Regions from separate parts of the Homo sapiens genome. Here region 2 is linked to region 1. Evidence: promoter capture Hi-C in 16 types of primary human blood cells and fetal thymus (Javierre and others, 2016). All regions are on one chromosome and are shown on one strand. Each heading gives the region's core, a stretch centred on a gene start or on the middle of the fragment in contact. The rest is flanking DNA. Distances are from core to core; before and after follow the strand shown.

Region 1 (2,831 bases), core at 329-2,828:
CCTGTTTTGGGACCCAGATCAAGTAACTTACCCTCTTAGTTTCAATTTCTTTAGGTTATAAAGTGCTCACTCAATTGTGGGTTTTGTCATTATGGGAGGGGGAACTGGCAGGGAAGGAGCCAGCTGTGGGGAGAAGAGAGTTAGGTGAGTCCTGAGTGTTTTTGTGGATTACTGTGCCCACCCCAAGACCAATGACTTGGCAATATCAGTGGTTGGCTGAAGATGTGAGCATGTGGTCCCCAGCCTGCTTCTGTACTGGACCCAGAGCCCCTGTGCGCACACATGCCTGCTGTGGCATTGATCCCACACTTGGCAAGGCAGAGCTTCTGAGAGGGTGCAGGAAAGGGAATAAGGAAGCCAGGGGCCCAGAGAAAAAGGTGCAATTATTATTATTATTATTATTTGTCACAGAGTCTCACTCTGTCACATAGGCTGGAGTGCAATGGCATAATCTCAGCTCACTGCAACCTCCACCTCCCAGGTTCGAGCAATTCTTGTGCTTCAGCCTCTTGAGTAGCTGGAATTACAGGTGTGAGCCACCATGCCCAGCTAATTGTTGTATTTTTAGTAGAGACAGTTTTCACTATGTTGGCCAGGCTGATCTCAAACTCTTGGCCTCAAGTTATCTGCCCACTTCAGCCTCCCAAAGTGCTGGGATTACAGCCATGAGCCACTATGCCTGGCCCGTTTTTATTTTTTTAAGGCCCAGAGCTTTTGCCTTAAGGATGAGTTAGTTTAAAAAAGAAAAATTGTTATAATCACAGTTAACTTTCACCCAGTTTCCTTTTTTAAAAAAATTTTATTGTATAAATAGAGACAGCGTCTTGCTACATTGCCCAGGCTGGTCTGGAACTCCTGTGCTCAAGGAATCTTCCTGCCTCGGCCTCCCGAAATTCCAGAATTACAGGCTGAGCCATCACTCCTGGTCTCGCCCAGTAGATGTTTCAAAGTAGATGTTTTCTAAAATATTTTACAATATTTACAAATTTTAAATAATAATAACGTTATCAATATTAATTTTGCTTATGCCAGGACTCCATCCCATTGGAGACAAACATTAAGTCTTATGGCAGACCTTACAGCGGGTGCTAGTTCCCACTCCCAAGCCTCTCCCCCGCCTAGGTCCTGCAGGTCCCGCGTGCTGCGAAACATTTTCTTTGTCCCTTTCTGCCCAGGGCGGCTGCCGGTCTCTCCAGGAACCGCGAGTAGGTGCTCCCGCCAGGTGGTATCGGTGAAAGCCTGCTGCTCACCCTTCCCTTGTTTCCCAAAACTTCTGAAGGCTCCCAAATTCCTGGGAGACCCTCTCCCAGGGCCTCCTGATGCAGCTACCATACTGAGCGATCCGTCGATAACGCCCTTGGCCCACCGATCAGTTTACCTTATTAGAGAGAAAAGCACTCTTGGAGGTAGTAAGATGGGCCGGTCCTTGATCTGAGAAATGGGCGCACAACATCGCTGTTCTCTCTGCAAAGGTGGGGACCAGAATCCAGCTTGCCTGACCTTGCAAGCAAGCATCGGCCTAAAGGTTTCAGCCTCCCAGTGGCGCTCTGTTTGCACGCCTTAGGCTAGGAGAGGAAGGACGGGAGCACAGCACTGGGTGCCCCTCTCCCTGTAGAGTCTGGGGCGGGGCTCAGTAAGAAGGCCTGCGGTTGGTGGCTCCCCACCTCATAGCTGCAAGTAGGGGCGAAAGCTGGAGTGTCTCCTCCCAGCAGCCTCCTCGCCTCCCCGCAAACCTCCGAATCTCCCTGGACCTCCTGGTTGCTGTGGCCCTTCCTCCCCTGATTGGCTTCCTCCCTCTTTCCCAAGGCCAGAGAAGTCCTCTCTTCCCCTCACCTTCCTCCCTCTTCCCATAAAACTTTTAGGAAAATGGGGGCGGGGGCGGTGGAGACCACCAGCCTGGAACTTCAAGTTCAATGGCAAAGTCCCTGACCCTCCCCCCAGGCTGGGCGCCAGCATTATTCTAGGGGCGATTAAACTCTTTTGCTGCCCCCTGTGCACCTCCCAGTTCGGGGGCAGTTTAGGGGAGGAGAGAAGGTAATGGTGGAATTCTTTCCCTCACTCTCCCCCGACCACTTCGTCCCCTCCCCCTCATCCCCTCTACACAGAACTAACTGGTAGGGAGAGAGGAAGAAAGGCTGGCATCGGTTCCTCATTGGATGTTTTAAATCTGTCTCAGGCCCAGGCCAGTGCCTGGGGGGAGGGGCGGGGTGTCCTGCTTTTGGGCTAGAGGCCCGGGGCCGCTCCCGAGCTTTCTCCCCTCTTCCCTGGAGAGCGACTGTTCGGGAGGGTGAGAATGGTATAAATTTCAAAAACAACGAAACCTTCTTTTGCCCCCTCCGCAGCAGTCGCCTCCGGGCTTTATTGCAAGTTTACGGTAACGAGTTCATCTATTTAATTCGCGGTTGCAGCTCGGGGATTTCTATTAGACAGGACGGGTTGGGGCCGGGGGGCACAGGGTCTCCCCTGAAGGAAACCCAATTAGAGTGCAGCACTTAGCACCTTCAATATAACTTTAATGAAGGGGGGGAGGGGAGCTGCAGGGAAGAGAAGTTTGCTCTAGGTTGGGGAAGGAAAGCTGGAGCTGCTCCCGAGAACTGGGGGGCCTGGATGAGGCTTTTTCCTGCTTCGAGGGCTTTCCAGCTTCCGGCCCGGGAACTACTATTTGGAGTAGGGATCGCCTGCAGGGAAGGCGGGGCGGATTCTCGGCTGGCGGCGGCCTCGCAGGGTTCCCGGAAGCGCTAGCCAGCCGGAGTAAAACCCGAAAGATGGAGCCTCAGGTTCGCGCTCTGCGTTGCGGGTGCTGGAACCGAGATTCAAAAAGAGCTTCCGGA
Region 2 (3,191 bases), core at 369-2,868, 530 kb before region 1:
ACTTCACAGAAGGGAGGGACAAAGGATGGAGACAAAGAAGGAATTTACTTCTCAAAAAATAAAATGAAAGAAGAATGAAAAAAAAAGCCTCTTTTAAGGACACACTCCACATTTCTTAATTAGGCAAAATGAAGGTAATTGGGCTAGCGGTATTTTAACATTTATTCTTTTTAGTCCCAGAACTCAAATCTCTTTTGGATTGTCTTAAATAATTTATGAAGCAAACCAAATACAAAACAAAGTAAGGCATAACTACATATGAATCAACTGGGCCACCTATAGAGTATCTTGAGAGTTATGGTTGAAATAACTTTTTTTCAAACAATTGTTTTTTGAACATTTCCTACAATAACATTTATTCAATGGTGGCTATGAGCTGGCACTTTGCTCAGTGCTTTTCCTACTTTTTGTTTTAAAATAACATCTACGACAATTTAAAATGCAATCAAAATTACATTTTGCTTTAAAGCTGTTTCAAGCTTAGTTATAAAAAGGTAGATCAGAAGAGCCTCTTTTTCTGTTTTTAAGTGTGTCTATGTGCCTGATTTTTTATCCAATTGGTCCTTATTGTTAACCTCCTTGTTCATGGACTACTTTTATTTGTGTGTTTCACAGTTAGCAAACTATGTGGTTGCCATAAATCCTTTTAATCAATCTCAGGGTGCACGCATGAGATGAACAGCAGCAAAGGAAAGTTCATTTTTCTAGGGTTCTTTCATTTCTCCTACCCCTCTGAAAACACCCTCCAAGGAAACAGTAGCAGATTCTACTGAGGGTGAGGCATTGAGTGGGGTGAGGACCAGTTACAGAAGAGAAGGCTCTCTGAAGTGCTGTCAAAAAATTGCTCCTGGGGAGGCCAGGTGTGGTGGCACAAACCTGTAGTCCCAGCTACTTGGAGGCTGAGGTAGGAGGATCTCTTGAGTCCAGGAGTTCAAGGCTGCAGTGAGCTGTGATTGAACCACTTCACAACAGCCTGGGGACAGAGCGAGACTCTGCCTCTTAAAAAAAAAAATTGCTCCTGGAGGCCTAAAAATTAAATGAAAGACATAGGGAGATGAGGAAAACACGATCCCATAAGCTGGGAGTTTCCATCTCTTCTTTCCACAGGTTTTTTTTTTCTTTTCTTTTTAAAGGTCTTGTTAAACTTAGAGACACAGCTCCTTGTCAAAGATGCCAAGAGTCTGAATCATAAAAGACATGTTAAACGTTCTATTAGAATTCAAACCTCCTTTTTTTAATGCAAATTTAAATGCCATTTTATGGAACATCTATAATTATGAAAATGGGAAGACATTGCCTCGTGTGCAGGGAGAGTCTGTGAGTATGAATATTACATTAATGTGCCCACACCAGCTCACTGATCCTGCTGGCAGGAGCATAAAAAATGCCTGAGTGAAACTTTTATTTAGATGTTAAGACTCCAGGCCCCAGCGGGGTGACAGAGACAGCCCCTGTGAGTTGCCATCAGAGAGAGAGCTTGAATTGAATTACCCAGGGGGGAGGAAGTAGTGATGAGCACTGCTTCGCTTATTTAATTTCATTTACTTTCAGTACATTATCAGCATGAGGTTTTTCTCTCCCCACCAACTGAAACCCAAGAATGCCACCACTAAGGAAACAAAGACATAATACAGCAGAGATGTAACTCTAAGTCACTAATTCTAGGAGACAAGGGATAGCACCATCACCACCTTCTCTCCCCAAGAGTCAAACTCAGTTTGCTAAAATTGGGTACCAAAGGAGCTGCTGAATTTTTTCTCTTGGTCATTCACTAACAAGATTCTGAAAAGGAATAGAGCTGGAAACAGCTTTTTATATGGTGTGTTTTTGTGTATAGTCAGTAAGATGTGTTATGTTGCTTTCTTTCTTTCTTTTTTTTGAGACAGAGTCTCACTCTTGTCGCCCAGGCTGGAGTGTAATGGTGTGATCTCAGCTCACTGCAACCTCCACCTCCCGGGTTCAAGCGATTCTCCTGCTCCAGCTTCCCAAGTAGCTGGGATTACAGGCATGCACCACCATGCCTGAATAGTTTTTTGTATTTTTAGTAGAGACGGGGTTTCTCCATGTTGGTCAGGCTGGTCTTGAACTCCTGACCCCAGGGGATCCAGCCGCCTCGGCCTCCCAAAGTGCTGGGATTACAGGCATGAGCCACCGCACCCGGTCTATGTTGCTTTCTTATTCATTAGACAGAATCTGTATTGAGGAATTCTCTTGCCTGGTTCCCCTTATGGGCAGTGGGAAAAAATGGGATTATAGGCTCAGTTTAGAATGTCTACGGAAAAAAAATTAGGAAATGAGGTCAGATCAGTCTCTAGTCTACTAACTGTCTTCTGTGTACAAGGTACTGTGTGGTGAGTTCAATAACAGAGTTGTTCTCAATGTAGTTGGCTCTGAGCTCAATCTCATTAGCTCCATGATCTATCTGACAAATCCAAATAACCAAGGTGGGAATCCACAGTGGCATGCAAGGTACCTCCTCTTTCAGTGTCAGCGCAGGGTCCTACTGATCAAGAACTAGTGATCCTGAGGATGAACAGTGTTAGCCATGCCATGGGGTGATGAGGCAGGAATCTTGTATGCCTGGATCCACACCTACTGGTAAACGAACAGATCTGCAGAGAACTACTTAATGCATAATAGAAAGTATGTAAAATATGCTTTAAAGGACGGTTATAAAAATAGGAAGAAGTTGCAAACAATTGTATAAGTTGCTATTTTAAGGCAAACAATTTATATTTAAGTATACAATTAAAAAAAGAAGCTTTTTATTCATTACCTGAGAAAAGATATCACCACCGTCATGAAAAAATAAAAATGATTTTGATTTATTGAGAATAAATGGCCCTCTTGGCTAAGTCTAAAGGTGTATTACATTATATCAGCACAAAACAGAATTACATTAGTGTCATAATCTCTCCCTACCACTACACTTAACTAAACCTCTCAGAACAGCCCGTATAAAGAAAAGATTCACTTAGCTGAAGGATATGGGGCCACAAAGATAAGATCAACAGAGAAGTATGTTACCCAGAAGTGATGGCCACCCAACTTTCATGGCAGATGAAGATAAAAGAAATTCTCAGATATCTTTCTCTTCATCTAGTTTCCTTTAAACCCTTGTATCCCACCCACATCAAAAAAAGCAATAAAAAACGACAGAATAGGATTCCATCTCTCAATGCTAAACATGA

What was found. Contacts are between HindIII fragments. The CHiCAGO score rates a contact against its expected background, and 5 or more counts as called.
Region 2: a contact is called between a fragment that was not itself captured here and the fragment with the promoter of PRAC1 in region 1, in 1 of 17 cell types (M2 macrophages). The highest score is 6.7, in M2 macrophages.

What each region holds. Positions count from the first base shown.
Region 1 is chr17:48,720,940-48,723,770 of GRCh38, forward strand. PRAC1 (PRAC1 small nuclear protein) reads right to left here and starts at 1,579. Exons shown (of 2, transcript NM_032391.3): 1 at 1,379-1,579; 2 at 780-960. The coding sequence starts at 1,453. The coding sequence ends at 862. PRAC2 (PRAC2 small nuclear protein) reads left to right here and starts at 2,246. Exons shown (of 2, transcript NM_001282275.2): 1 at 2,246-2,374. RefSeq lists enhancers at 1,525-2,039, 2,040-2,555. The HindIII fragment of the contact is 8,116 bases long and covers 1-2,831 here.
Region 2 is chr17:48,191,180-48,194,370 of GRCh38, forward strand. The region is part of intron 4 of SKAP1 (src kinase associated phosphoprotein 1); the gene reads right to left. Among named protein-coding and RNA genes, the nearest start is that of MIR1203, 36 kb to the left of the region's middle. RefSeq lists an enhancer at 990-1,607. The HindIII fragment of the contact is 2,282 bases long and covers 478-2,759 here.